Regions from separate parts of the Homo sapiens genome. Here all the other regions are linked to region 2. Evidence: promoter capture Hi-C in 16 types of primary human blood cells and fetal thymus (Javierre and others, 2016). All regions are on one chromosome and are shown on one strand. The core of a region is centred on a gene start or on the middle of the fragment in contact, and the rest is flanking DNA. Distances in the headings are between cores, read along the strand shown. Region 1 overlaps CUX1 (cut like homeobox 1). Region 2 holds the start of COL26A1 (collagen type XXVI alpha 1 chain). Region 3 overlaps CUX1 (cut like homeobox 1).

What was found. Contacts are between HindIII fragments. The CHiCAGO score rates a contact against its expected background, and 5 or more counts as called.
Region 1: a contact is called between a fragment that was not itself captured here and the fragment with the promoter of COL26A1 in region 2, in 13 of 17 cell types (M0 macrophages, endothelial precursors, total B cells and 10 more). The highest score is 12.3, in M0 macrophages.
Region 3: a contact is called between a fragment that was not itself captured here and the fragment with the promoter of COL26A1 in region 2, in 4 of 17 cell types (M0 macrophages, naive B cells, fetal thymus and 1 more). The highest score is 7.3, in M0 macrophages.

The regions. Positions count from the first base shown.
Region 1 is chr7:102,253,276-102,257,778 of GRCh38, forward strand. CUX1 (cut like homeobox 1) reads left to right here. Exons shown (of 24, transcript NM_181552.4): 24 at 1-4,503. Among named protein-coding and RNA genes, the nearest start is that of SH2B2, 31 kb to the right of the region's middle. The HindIII fragment of the contact is 349 bases long and covers 2,347-2,695 here.
Region 2 is chr7:101,360,806-101,365,618 of GRCh38, forward strand. It overlaps COL26A1 (collagen type XXVI alpha 1 chain), which reads left to right and starts at 2,070. Exons shown (of 13, transcript NM_001278563.3): 1 at 2,070-2,385. The coding sequence starts at 2,228. RefSeq lists a silencer at 3,204-3,443. The HindIII fragment of the contact is 2,872 bases long and covers 1,546-4,417 here.
Region 3 is chr7:102,235,746-102,240,835 of GRCh38, forward strand. CUX1 (cut like homeobox 1) reads left to right here. Exons shown (of 24, transcript NM_181552.4): 23 at 3,575-3,839. It overlaps LOC124901711 (a long non-coding RNA gene), which reads right to left. Exons shown (of 3, transcript XR_007060458.1): 3 at 4,807-4,893. Among named protein-coding and RNA genes, the nearest start is that of SH2B2, 49 kb to the right of the region's middle. RefSeq lists a silencer at 4,316-4,385. The HindIII fragment of the contact is 5,463 bases long and covers 947-5,090 here.

The DNA.
Region 1 (4,503 bases), core at 1,271-3,770, 890 kb after region 2:
CCCCATCTCCCTCCTTGGCCAGGGCCAGCATCAGGCGTGCAGCTCATGACCAGTTTACACAGGCTGCAAAGAGATCGCTGTGGGCCTCGGCTGACTACTTTAAGATTATGCCACAGCCAGGCCCTAAAAAGAGAGGGGAACAGGAGTCCCCAGGTGAGCTCTCTGACGGGCAGGTGCCTTCCCGACTAAGGTTGGACTGGATGACTTTGTTCCTCCTGCATGCATGTCCTTTGATGCAAGGGTGATCAATGAACTCTGTTGACATTCTATGCAATGTTTTTCATTCCTCTGATTTTAGCAAAGCAAATCTTACTGAAAAATAGCAGAGCCAGGGGAACAGACGCATGTCCTTCTGGGAGTCACACAAAAGCAGAGAGATTTTGAACTGAGGGGCGACAGCCTTTGCCTTAAATGCAGTATGACAGGCGCTTCTTGGCAGACCAGTAAAAACAAAAGCCCATAGACCTTACTCATCCCAAGGCCGACAAGCCAGCTGTACAGGGCGAGATGTAGCAACACGGGGCATGAGCGGTGGGCGTGCTGGGCTATTTGCTGTGGTACTTTAGGCTGGAGGTTTGGCTCCTGTGCTGCCGGTGGGGGGCCCTGTCCCTCCCCAGATGTCCTCCCTCTTCTTCACACTCCTCATTGTCCCTTCTACCTCACTAACCTGTCTTCTCCATCTGATGTCACCCAGAACCACACCCCACAGAACTGTGAGGCACGTGGGCTGGAGAGAGCAGAAAAGCTGCCAGCGCAGCAGACACGAACATCCCTCTGCCTGGTGGGCCGGCTTTGTGTGTCTCTCCTTTTGTGAGCGCAACACGGACAAACAGCTGTGCTCTGCAAGGCACACGGATGTTTCCCTTCCACCTGTTCCCAAAGCTCCAGCAGCTGTTTCTTTTGCAGGCAGGGCGTGGTCTCGGGGCTCCGAGGGTCTTGTCTTTGGTCCGCCTTCCTTTCTGTCCAGTCCTGCTCAGCTGTTAAGATCCATCATGGCCATTATCCTTGTCCCGGACTGCCCCAAAGTTCCCAGCTGGCTTTGGGGAACACTGTAGCTCTTGGGTGTCTCTTGTCTCTGGCATGGTTTTAGCGTCACTGCGAACACTCCTTTGCAAACATCAAACATCTCAAAGACGGAAAAGGATAGATGGCTTCCTCCAGCCTACACGCCCCGTCCACAGTGGCATCACCCTCTTATCCCAAAAGAATATGCCAGTTCCCATCCAGCACCGAAGAAAATCAGCTCCTGGGGCTGGTGGTTGGAGGTGGGTCTGTCCACTGTGGGGGCCAAAGTGTTCCCCTGCTGGAGACAGTTTGCAAGTAAGAACCTAAGGATGGGGACAGCATCCTGTGCTTGGGCATTGACCAGCCAAAGCTCACATTTAGAAAGCCCTCAGTGCTTCTGTGGTTTCACCTGGGCATCGACGACATTAGGGAAGCCTTTGTGACCACAAGGGCAGGGCTTGTGCCCTGAGTGGCGAGGTGGTGACCTGAGGCCAGTGTGATGTGGTTGGATCTCAGCGTGTACTGAATGCCAGTCTGGCCGGCACACTCGAACGCTAAGAGAATGGTCCAATTTGATGATCTTATTTCTATTTCGATCAGGTTTTGACTTTTTGTAGATGAAAACTACCAGGGAAAAGGGGAAGCAGGTACCCAATAAAGTTTAGAAAGATCCAGTCTGTGAAACCCTTAGAGATGGGCTGAAAGTTAAGTCCACCAACCCTTGGGCTTAATCAGGACGGAAGAGGAGGGGGTGTGGGGGGCAGAGCGTAAAACAAGCCCCAGCCCTACTCCCGGCCCCCCAGCCCAGTCTTCCCAATCCCAGAGGCCCCGGCGGCCTGTGCTCCTCACCACCCTGGTCAGGGGAATAGAAGGAAATGCAATTTCCGCCTGTCTGCCCGACTTCCAAAAACTGCCTCCTCCTGCCCAGGCCTCTCCCACCACCACCTTCCCTCCAAAGATAACCGTGTCCATGCCATCCGTGGCATCATCTCGAGTTTTCATTTTTGGATGAAGTGACATTTAGCTTTAACAAGACATTTCCAAAGCGCCTAGTCTCCTCCAAAATGCTAACTTTAAAAGTTGGGCATTGTAGGCGAAAAATCCCAAAAAAAAAAAAAGACAAAAAAAAAAGGCTGGCGAGAGAAAGACATTTGGCTATGCATAAATGTGCACTTCCCCCATGCCCCCGTTCTTAAACTCTTAAGATGCCTTTGAGTTGCTTTTCATGAATCCTTTTAGTTTACCCGATAATGTTAAGAAAGCATTAGTCTACGTTACTGTAATTTCTGTAGTGTTTACGCTTTAATTTCTACCACAAAATATGCTATATGCTATGTATCAAGCTTTCTGTAATCAGAAAGAAAAGGTGCCTTATATCCCAATGTCACGGCTACATCCCTATGGAAATTAATCAGAAGCACAGTGTGTACGGAAGCATTGGGACTTCTGCTGGTGAAACAAGAGACCATTCAGCAAGACACATTGAAGTGGCACGGAGCTGCTTTTGTTTTATAATTCTTTTTTCCCCCCTTTTCCTTCTTCTTTTTTATTATTTTATTATTTTTTTTGTACTTTGCTTTAAACGGAAAGCACTTAAATAGATGACTATGTGTAAAAGCTCTGTGCAATTGAAATCATTTTTCTTCATTTTAAAAAAATAACGTATTGCACACCAAATGAACTCAAAGTAAGCTTTAGACCAGGACGATTCAGGTTATGAATGAGTTTGTTCACTGTAGTTCCGTTTGTTCATGAACCGAAGGGAAAACAGGCCTCCCCGACTCCCTCCAGTCTCCCAGCCTGCCTCTTGGTGACCACTGTGCTGGGCGTGCAGGGCCCGCGGGCTCTGGCCGGAGCCGCTGGCCTGACGAGGCAGGATAGGGAGTATCCGTGATTCAGAAGCTGAGACCCTTCCCCAGTGTCTGAGGCCACAGCCATCCCTTCCAGCACTTAATCTTGTCTTGTTGAAATGGACTGACTGCTACTGACCTGCCGGCGTGCGTGAGGGTGATTATAAAAGGATGTTTCCTTGAGAAAAAAAAAATTATTTCTATCCTCTTCTATTTATTATTAGGTTAATCATTTAAGTACTTATCAGGAGTGTATTGTTATTTTGTGTTTTGTTGTCATAAATGCTTTTTGCTGTCACTCTAGTGGTTACTATCCTCTGCCTTCCTCTCCTCCCCTACTCCCCCAGAGAACCAAGGCGTCTGGGGGATTGACTGGGGGGCAGAGGGGGTTTCCCCAGCAAAATCAAACACCTGTCTCCAGAGTAGCCACTCAAAAACTGGTGGTCTCTATGTGTCTAACTTTTTAAATGAGAGTGTTTATGAACAAAAAAATTTACCAACGTGTGAGGGAGTTGCTGAGTTGAAGAATGCTCGCTTGAGGAGCTTCAGAGGAATCTTAGCAAAGCCAAGTTCAGTTCCCCAAAGCCTCCTAGAGCCTCTGGTAAGACTTCTGGGTTCATGAAGTTTCGGCGAGCCGTGGTCAGAGAGGGCGCGGTGGCCTGGCCAAGACTTTACCTCCAAGCGAGAGAGTGATTTCTTGCAAGGCCCGCATGGGTTGATACGTTTTGGTTGGTTTTTTGTTGTTGTTTTTCTTGCGTACAAAGTTGGTCAAAACCATCTTTCAAAGCAACAGTGTTTTGTAGTACCAGGCTGTGGCTTGAGGGCTCACCTAGGAGATCATAGGCAGAGGGCCCCTTTCCCCTATAGGTGGTTCAACGTGGAGGAAGGTTGGGTGTGGAGATTGCTTGCTGTGGCCCCAAGCTCAGCCAGCAGGACACCCAGTTGTTGCCAATCAGGTGTGAAGGTGAGGCGCCCTGCCTTGATCCCATGGGCCCAGCAGAAGGAAACTTACCCCAGGCCAAGGCAAGGGCCCTGCTCACCCCAAGGTAGGCTGGGAAGAGCATCTCTTTCCATATCATCACCTCCCCTTCTCCAAGATTGCCGGGGGCCCTGATTTTGTTCTCTCTTTGAAAGAAACCCTCCACCGAAACAATGGTCCCCATCTCCCCAGAAGCCTTTTTTTTTTTCATTTTTCTCTAATTAGTCTATGCATTTCTCTCTCTCAAACCATCTTCTGCCTCTTCCCTTGAGAAAACGGGCATCTCACGTACCCCCATCTGAGACCTCTTGGAAAAAAAAAATCCCGTGTATTCTGGAGATGTGAGAATTCACCCAAAATTCTTAAAACATTGGAGAATAGCTTGTTATAAAATAAAAGTGGGGGTAAAAAGAAGGTGGTTTTCCCCACATCCCTTTGCATTGAATAAGAGACCTAGTTCTTTGCGTTTGTGCAATAACTCTTTGCTGCTTGCCTTGAGAGCGGGTAGCACCACGCTCCTGTCCAGACTACTAACAGCACAAGACGCACTCACAGGGTGGCGGAATCTTCCGGAAAACTCTCTATAAGCTCAGCTCCCCCCACCCCACCCCCACTCTAGCGTTTTGTCACGTCTTACATTTTAGCAGTATTTTATATTTTCTGTAACGC
Region 2 (4,813 bases), core at 820-3,319:
TGAGTAGCTGGGACTACAGGCACACACCTCCACGCTTTGCTTTTTTTTTTTTTTTGTAGAGATGGGGGGGTCTCACTATGTTGTCCAAGCTGGCCTCGAACTCCTGGCCTTAAGCAATCCTCCCGCCTCAGCCTCCCAAAGCATTAGGTCTTTGTTGTTTTGTTTTTTGAGACGGAGTCTCACTCTGTCCCCCAGGCTGGAGTGCAGTGGCATGATCTCAGCTCACTGCAACCCCGGGTTCAAGCGATTCCCCTGCCTCAGCCTCCTGAGTAGCTGGGATTACAAGTGCATGCCACTACGCCCAGCTAATTTTTTCTATTTTTTTAGTAGAGACAGGGTTTCACCATGTTAGCCAGGCTGGTCTTGAACTCCTGACCTCAAGTAATCTGCCCACCTCAACTTCCCAAAGTGCTGGGATTACAGGCGTGAGCTACTGTGCCCGGCTTCCAAAGGATTAGGATTACTGAAGTGAGCCATTGCCACTGGCCTCTACAATCCTTTTGCAAAATGTGCTCCAGTCCAGCAAACACTTCCATATTTGATGGTTTTTCTCCATCCTGTAGGCATTTTACAGACAGGAGTTTTCAACTGGTCACAGGGGCAGAGCAAGCCTCAGGGCATCTGCACCCTTAGGTTGCTTTTGGAAGAATTAGGAAAAAAGCTCCCAGGCCGGGCTAGGTGGCTCACACCTGTAATCCCAGCACTTTGGGAGGCGGAGGTGGGTGAATCACCTGAGGTCAGGAGTTCGAAACCAGCCTGGCCAACATGGCGAAACCCCGTCTCTACTAAAAATACAAAAATTAACCCGAAATGGTATTGCTTGCCTGTAATCCCAGCTACTCGGGAGGCTGAGGCAGAAGAATCACTTGAACCCGGGAGGCAGAGGTTGCAGTGAGCCGAGATCGCACCACTGCACTCCAGCCTGGGTGACAGAGCGAGACTCCAACTCAAAAAAAAAAAAAAAAGAAAAAGAAAAAAAAAAAAAGGAACAAAATGCTCCTAACCCGGGCGAGTAGAGTACGGGCTGGATTTCTGGTCCCACCTGGGCCTGGAGCAGGGTCCAAGCCCTATGGGAATCCTGCAACATAGAAAAGACCAAAACTTGGGTCCAGGCTGGCCTTGGGCCCAGCATGGGATCTAGGACTCTGCTTTTCTGTTTATAAAAGGTGGGATTGTCCTACATCTTCCTGAAGCCCTTTTCTGGATAGGATGTCTCATGAATCTGTGATTCTAGCTACAACTTTTTTCTTTTTTTGAGATGGAGCCTCACCTTGTCATCCAGGCTGGAGGCCAGTGGCCTGATATTGGCTCACTGCACCCTCCGCCTCCTGAGTTCAAGTGATTGGCTTGCCTCAGCCCAGCCTGTAGTTGAGATTACAGGCACCTGCCACCACACTAGGCTAATTTTTGTATTTTTAGTAGAGACGAGGTTTCACCATGTTGGCCAGGCTGGTCTCGAACTCCTGACCTCAGGTGATCCGCCCACCTCGGCCTCCCAATCTAGCTACAACTTCTCACCCCAACTGACCCTTCCGCCCCTCCCAAAGCTTCTTACCTGGAAGAGACAGCGGGGCAGGTGGGGGCTGGAGGTTAAAGGGGAAGGAGGAGAATCCTGGGAAGCTCTGGTCAGTTTCTCACGGGAACGCAGCGCTTTGATCCAAAGAGCCCTGCACAAGGATCGGAAGACTCGCATTTGTCTGGCTTAACTTTCTCCAGCCTCAGTTTCCACTTCTGAATGGGACCATCGAGGGCAGTGTGGCGAGGATTCACCAACATCGTCCAGGTGAAATTGGCAGACACAGAATGGGCGCTCCGAAAGCATTCGCGGACCCGAAGAAGGTTTGGTTTCAAAGGTTCTAAGGTGTGTAGCGGGGGCCTGGGCGCGAGGTCTGGCTTTCGGGGTGTTAGGCTCCAGGGACCTCCTGCGGAGCTCGCACCCTAGCTCTGCCGCCACTGCCGCCTCCTCGGCCCCGGACCGCCGAGGGTTAACAAAAAAGCCCCACGCCCCCTTTGACGGCTTAGAGCCCACCTCGCCGAATTTGAAAAGGCGGCCCCGGAGAGGCGTGGGCGCCCCCCACACATTTCCAGCTCGCACCCGGGCTCCGACCGCTCGCCCCGCTCCTCTCGCTGTGCTCCCGGCCGGTGCCGCGGGTTCGGTCCGGGCGCCGGTGCGCTCCTGCCGGTCCTCGTGCCCGGGACTCCGGGTCCCCGCGGGCTGCTGCGCACGATGAAGCTGGCCCTGCTCCTGCCCTGGGCGTGTTGCTGCCTCTGCGGGTCGGCGCTGGCCACCGGCTTCCTCTATCCCTTCTCGGCCGCAGCTCTGCAGCAGCACGGCTACCCCGAGCCCGGCGCCGGCTCCCCTGGCAGCGGCTACGCGAGCCGCCGGTGAGTAGCTCGGGGCCGAGGGGCCGGGGGGTGGGGGGAGGGAGCGGACAGCGGGGGCCCTGGCCACTGGGTGGCTGGAGCGAGGCTTGGGGGCTGGAGAGCGGGGCGATCCGGGACTTGGGGGCGCAGGGCAGCGGGGACTGGGGGCTGCAGACACCGGGCAGCTGGAACGAGAGCTGGAGGGGGTTGGGGTGCGGGGCGATTCGGGCCTGGGGGCGCGGGGTGGCGGATGCCAGGGGCAGGGGACACGGGGCAACTGGGACGAAATGGCGGTGGCTGGGGGTTGGGGTCACGGGGGGAAAGACCGAAGGGCCTTGGGTGCAGGGCGATTGGGGGCTGGGGCGCGGGGCGGCGGGGGTTGGGGGCTGCAGACGGGGCAGCTGGAACGAGCGATGGAGGAGGCTGGGGGTTGGGGCCGCGGGGCTGCGGGGCTGCGGGGTTGCGGGGGCTGAAGGTTCGGGTCCGGCTCCGGGGCTGCGGTGGTCTCTGGCCGCGCCCACCCTGTCCCTTCCTTTCTTCGCTTCCCCAACCTTCGCCCCCTCGTTCCGGGCTCCGAGTAGAGGTGGTTCCGACCGCCGTGGCTGGGGCTGGGGCTCTGCCCGGGGCGTTCGGCCGCTCACGTGGCTCTGCCGCTCACCTGCGCGGCTGCGGCTTTGTGTCGCGGAGCAGGTTCTCGGGTGGCCAAGGCCTCGCGTCCCGGGCACCCCTCTCCTATCAGCGGCCCCAGGACACCAGAGGGGTCATTCCCGCCCAGTCTTTGGGGCTGAGGCCGCGGAGGATCCTCGGCTGCGACTCCCCAGCCACCCCGGGACGTGGAACCGGCTGGGATCGGGTGGCTCCGTGGCGGGGTTGGAGAGGGCGCAGGGTCACCGGGCCCGGGCGCCGGGACCCGCCAGGCGTCTCCTTCCTCTCGGCCGGCAGGTGGCGCCATGGCCACCCCCGGGACGCTCAGGGCTGCGGCTCCGGAGCCCGCATTTGAATTTCCCCAGAAAACCATAAGCATGCAAGTAAAAGTTGCCAAACGCCTCGTTTGCATAACTCGCTTGAATTTAGCTTTTCTCATTTAGTGATAACTACAACCTACACAGCTATGACAGCGCTCTGGAATGCACTACCTGTGTCTGTTCCCTCCGTCTCTTTTTTATATTTTAATTTTTTTTTTTTGCAGAGGCAGAATCTCAACTCTGTTGCCCAGGCTTGTCGCAAACTCCTGGGCTCAAGCGATCCTCCCGCCTTGGCCTCCCAATCTCCATTTCTTTTGATCCTTAACAACCCTAGGGTTAAAACATTAGAGTAGTATCTTTCCTTTAGCTGAAGAAACAGAGGCTCAGGATTTGCTAGGCCTAGGAGCCACTCAGGACTGACCTCTTGTGCTTTCTTTCTTTTTTTTTTTTTTTTAATATAGGGTCTTGCTTGCTCCCCAGGCTGGAATGCAGTGGTGCGATCATAGCTCACTGCAAACCTGATCTCCCAGGCTCAAGTGATCCCCCGACCTTGGCCTCCTGTGTAGCTGAGATCACAGGTGTACACCATCATGACTGGCTAATTTTTTGATTTTTTGTAGAGGTGGGATCTCACTGTGTTACACATGCTGGTCTCAAACTTCTGGCCTCAAGAGATCCTCCTGCCTCGGCCTCCCAAAATGCTGGGATTACAGGCGTGAGCCACCACGCCAGGCCCAGATCTGGTGTTTTCTAGCATACTGCTCTGCCTATCAAAGCTAAAAGACAGCTCCTAGTTCTTTTTTTCTCCTTGATATTTACCAAATCAGAGGACTCCAAGATGATTTCTGGCTAATTCCTTAATAACAAGGAGACAGGGATGTTTCATGCTGGGAAGAAATATACAGTCATGGCTGAATAGGGCGGGACCCAGAAAAGCATAAAAGTGCCTCTGGAAAAGTTTGTATGCAATCCTATTTCTCTCATTTTGTTTGGAAATACTTACCCGGGGCTTCTATGAGGAGCATTCTCCAAACACCCACGCTAGTGTGGCCTCTGCACAGTTCCATATGAGGATTGTCTAAAAAACAAGCTTTTCAAGTTACAGAATAATATATACAGCACGATTTCATTTATGAAAAGGAAAATCAGATCTACATCTAGGTAGATAAATGCCTGAAAAAAGTTTCTAGGAAACCATTTCAGCAGTTAATGTTATGAAGAAGTCTAGGGCTGGGCCAGGGGACTGTCCCATTTTCCCTCTGTCTGCTTGTGGCTTGTCTGAATGTTTTTCTGGTTTCTGTGTTTTTTTTGAGACAGAGTCTCGCTCTGTCTCCCAGGCTGGAGTGCAATGGTGCAATCTTGGCTTACTGCAACCTCTGCCTCCCAAGTTCAAGTGATTCTCCTGCCTCAGCCTCCCAAGTAGCTGGGATTACAGGTGCCCACCACTGCGCCTGGCTAATTTTTGTATTGTTGGCCAATAAAAA
Region 3 (5,090 bases), core at 2,428-4,927, 880 kb after region 2:
CTCTGCCCCAGCCCACCCCACCCCCGTCCCCGCCACACACACACACACACACACGCGCACACAACATCTGAGCCAGGGGTGGGTATGGAACCCAGGCCTGTCAGTTCTTAATTCACCCAGAAATTCCAGCCAAGCATCGCCGTTCTCACCCAACCCGGGAAAGGACTGCTGAAGGAGAGAGAGTGTCTGGTGCCTCCTCCAGGAACCCTATGGGGGTTCCTTTATAATAATAGAGGCTTCTATTTTCTGAGAACTGCCCTGTTTGCCAGGCACTGCGCTAAGACTGCTGTTCATCCACACGACTCTGCTTAGATGTCCTTATCCAGGAAATACGAACCTCGGTGCTTCATGCAGCCTAGCAGATTTCAATAGCTCCTATCAGTAGGGAACGGGAATTCATACTCAGGGCTGTCAGATTTCAAAGCAGATGCTCTTAAATATACATCCGCTGCCTCTGTGCTGCGAGCTGCCCCCCTGGGATGACCCAGGGGCACTGCTGCTGCCCACTGATGACCTGCCCAGGTGGTGGCCTCTGCCCCATTCAGGGCCCCTCTAGCGAGCTCTGGCCTGCCCTTGGGCCTGTAGTCTAAGGGTCTGAGGTAGGCCATGCCTCTTGGGCAGCCCCAGGCAGCGCTGTAAGCTGCAGAGGCCTGGTGCCACATTGCCCCCCTAAAAGTTTTCAACTTATTTTTCGTTTTGTTTTTTGTTTTTTGTTTTTTAAAGTCTCGCTATATTGCCCAGGCTGATCTTGAACTCCTGGCCTCAAGCAGTCCTCCCATCTCGGCCTCCCAAAGCGCTGGGATTACAGGCATGAGCCACTGCGCCCGGCCTTTTCAATGTCTTATTATGGGAAATCTCCAACATAAACAAAAGTAGAGAAAATGCTGTCATGAACCCAATAGATCTGTGCAGAGTTTCCCGTGATCCCCTCACCCGAGCAGCGTGAAGCTTCCTGCACTAGCCAGGAGGCAGCCCTCAGCCCTTAGGAGGGAGGAGGCCCTGACAACCCAACTCCCTGCTGTGTTTCTCACCCTGGGGCCCTTAGGAAAGGACCTTAGTCCCCGCAAATACATCTCCAGGGCTTCCCAGGCCTCCCATCTTTCCCTCGGCACAGGCTCGGGGCGCCCTCTTGTGTTACAAATGAATTACTGTTTCTGCGGGGCCCAGACCTTTCCAAAGGTGCCCTAGTATCCAAAGCCGCTGTGGTCCGATGGCCTTCTCTTCACTCCTGGGGGTGCCGGCCACAAAGGCTGCTCCCTAGAGAGGCCTTCTCCAGCCCCCTGCCAGCCCCTGGTCAGTCGTCTGTCCCCTAGGAGGGAACTGGAGGGAGTCCCCACGGTTGGACAATCCAACTCCTTTCTCTGGATCCAGCAGCTTTGACTCCGCTGTTTGGGTTTTCTATGGGGAAGATTTACCTTCTCAATTGCTTCTGAGTTCTCATGACAAAATGGCAAGTTAATTAAGGAAATCCCTTGCCTAAGCTGTTTATTTTATTTTTTTAGAGACAGGGTCTCTGTTGCCCAGGCTGGAGGGCAGTGATGCAATCATAGCTCACTGCTGCAGCCTCGGTGTTCTGGGCTCAAGTGATCCTCCCGTCCCAGCTACTCGGGTGCACGCAGCCTCGGTGTTCTGGGCTCAAGTGATCCTCCCATCCCAGCTACCCGAGTAGCTGGGACTACAGGTGCACGCCACCACACTGGCTAATTTTTAAATTTTTTTTGAGACAGGGTCTCTCTATGTTCTCCAGGCTGGTCTCAAACTCCTAGGCTCGAGCAATCCTCCCATCTCAGCTTCCCAAAGTGCAGAGATTATAGGCGAGAGCCACCACGCCCGGCGATGTCCTTCAGGATTCAGTTTAAACATCATCTCTTCTAGGCAACTTCCCCTTCTGCCTCCCCAGGTGTAGGGACCAGCCCCACAGGGTCTGTGGGTCTCTCCCCGTGTGTGGAGACGAGAGAGTATAGAAATAAAGACACAAGACAAAGAGATAAAAGGCAGCTGGGCCCGGGGAACCACTACCACCAAGTTGTGGAGACTGGTAGTGGCCCCAAATGCCAGGCTGCACTGATATTTATTGGATACAAGACAAAGGGGCAGGATAAGGAGAGTGAACCATCTCCAATCATAGGTAAGGCCACGTGGGTCACATGTCCACTGGACAGGGGGCCCTTCCCTGCCTGGCAGCCGAGGCAGAGAGAGAGAGGAGACAAAGAGAGAAACAACCTACACCATTATTAGAGACTTTTAGTACTTTCACTAATTTGCTACTGCTATCTAGAAGGCAGAGCCAGGTGTACAGGATGGAACATGAAGGCAGACTAGGAGCGTGACCACTGAAGCACAGCATCACAGGGAGATGGTTAGGCCTCCAGATAACTGCGGGCAAGCCTGACAATGTCAGGCCCTCCACAAGAGGTGGAGGAGCAGAGTCTTCTCTAAACTCCCCCGGGGAAAGGGATACTCCCTTTCCCGGGATACTCCCTTTCCCGGTCTGCTAAGTAGCCTGTGTTTTTCCTTGACACTGAGGCTACCGCTAGACCACGGTCCGCCTGGCAACGGGCGTCTTCCCAGACGCTGGCGTTACCTCTAGACCAAGGAGTCCTCTGGTGGCCCTGTCTGGGCATAACAGAAGGCTCGCACTCTTGTCTTCTGGTCACTCCTCACTGTGTCCCCTCATCTCCTATCTCTGTATGGCCTGGTTTTTCCTAGGTTATGGTTATAGAGCAAGGATTATTATAATATTGGAATAAAGAGTAATTGCTACAAACTAATGATTAATGATATTCATATATAATCATATCTAAGATCTATATCTGGTGTAACTATTCTTGTTTTATATTTTATTATACTAGAACAGCTTGTGTCCTCGGTCTCTTGCCTCGGTACCTGGGTGGCTTGCCGCCCACACCCAGGCCTGGCCGAGGAACTCTTCTCAGTATCCCCATGGTCTCTTGCACTTACTTACCCCCACCCCACTTTTCACTCTGCTGGGAACATCTCTCTGGATACTTCTCTGCCTCCCCTACTAAACTGTTAAGTTGTGCAGGGACAGGTGAGGACCTGACATTCCGTCAGAGCAGGTCCTTGGTGAGCATGTGCTGGTAACAGAATGGCTCTCATCTTAGCGTTGTTTCTTTTGTTTTGTTTTGTTTTGTTTTGTTTGAGACGGAATCTTGCTCTGTTACTCAGGCTGGAGTGCAGTGGCACCATCTCATCTCACTGCAACCTCCACCTCCCAGGTTCATGCAATTCTGCCTCAGCCTCCCTAGTAGCTGGGATTACAGGTGCGTACCACCACGCCCAGCTGATTTTTGTACTTTTAGTAGAGACGGGGTTTCACCATATTGGCCAGGCTGGTCTTGAACTCCTGACATCAAGTGATCTGCCTGCCTCGGCCTCCCAAAGTGCTTGGATTACAGGCATGAGCCACCATGCCCAGCCTCATCTTAGTGTTTTGAGATGCTCTATGCAAAGTCCTGCAAGCCGGCACTGTGCCGTCCCGCTAGCGGGACTGGGGATTTGGGCTGCTGTCCCAGCTGGGCCTGACCTTAGTCTGCCATCTCTTCCTCCGCAGCCTACATGAAGCGGCGGCACAGCTCAGTCAGTGACAGCCAGCCCTGCGAACCGCCCTCTGTCGGCACCGAGTACAGCCAGGGCGCCAGCCCCCAGCCCCAGCACCAGCTGAAGAAACCCCGGGTGGTGCTGGCTCCGGAGGAGAAGGAGGCGCTGAAACGAGCGTATCAGCAAAAGCCATACCCGTCACCAAAAACCATCGAAGACCTCGCCACCCAGCTCAACCTGAAAACCAGCACCGTCATCAACTGGTTCCACAACTACAGGTACGACGGCTGGCTCACAGGGAGCGCCGGTCGGCCCAGGGGAAGGGGCTGATCTGTCCGGAGGCCGCCATGGCGCACAGGGGTGAGGCTGGGGCCGGAGGTGGGGCGCTGGGAGCTCGGTGATTGGTCCGTTCCTTGGTCCCTTAGGGTTTTTTTTTTCTTTTCTTTTCTTTTCTTTTGAGATGGAGTTTCAATCTTGTTGCCCAGGCTAGAGTGCATTGGCGCAATCTCGGCTCACTGCAACCTCCGCCTCCTGGGTTTAAGCAGTTCTCCTGCGTCAGCCTCCCAAGTAGCTGGGATTACAGGCATGCACCACCAAGCCCGGCTAATTTTTGTATTTTTAGTAGAGACGGGGTTTCACTATGTTGGTCAGGCTTGTCTCAAACATCCTGACCTCAGGTGATCTGCCCACCTCGGCCCCGCAAAGTGCTGGGATTACAGGCGTGAGCCACCACGCCTGGCAGTTCCTTAGGTGTTATTGGAGGTTTTAACTGCAGAGATGTAAGGCCACGTCCCTTCCCGTCACTGTCACATAGTTAGAAACAGGTGGTATCTGCCATGACCCAGAAAGAAAATCACCTCTCGATTACATCATTTAATAAGGGAGAGTGTAGGCATTCATGGTTCAAAAGGAGTGAAACTTTTGTGGTTTAGTTTATATATATCTATATTTATAGTTATATTCATATTTATTTATTTTTAGAGACAAGGGCTTGCTCTGTCACCCAGGCTAAAGTGCAGTGGTGCAATCATAGCTTACTGCAGGCTGGAACTCCTGGGCTCAGGCAGTCCTCCCACCTCAGCCTCCTGAGTAGCTAGGATGCCAATGCACCACCATGCCTGCTGATTTTTTATAGAGACAGGGGTCTCGCTCTGTTGCCCAAGCTGGTCTCAAACTCCTGGCCTCAAGCAGTCCTACCACCTCAACCTCCCAAAGCCTTGTGATTATAGACATGAGCCACCACACCTGGCCTGAACTTTTATTTCTTAGTGATTTTGCAGTGCTTTCTCGGGGTCTTCTGCCATGTTATCTTCCAAATTAGTTTGATTAGTTCTGTAATTAAATAAATGAAGTCATTTAAGACCTTTGCATTTGGGAAAGTTCATGAGTTAATGAAGACAGATTGAGCATCTTCTAGATCTCAGATTCTGAGCTAAGTATTTCACCGAGTTATATCACTTAATCCTCACAGCTCACAAATGTATATGAGATACCTTATTCTTGTCATTCCTTTTTTGTTGTTGTTGTTG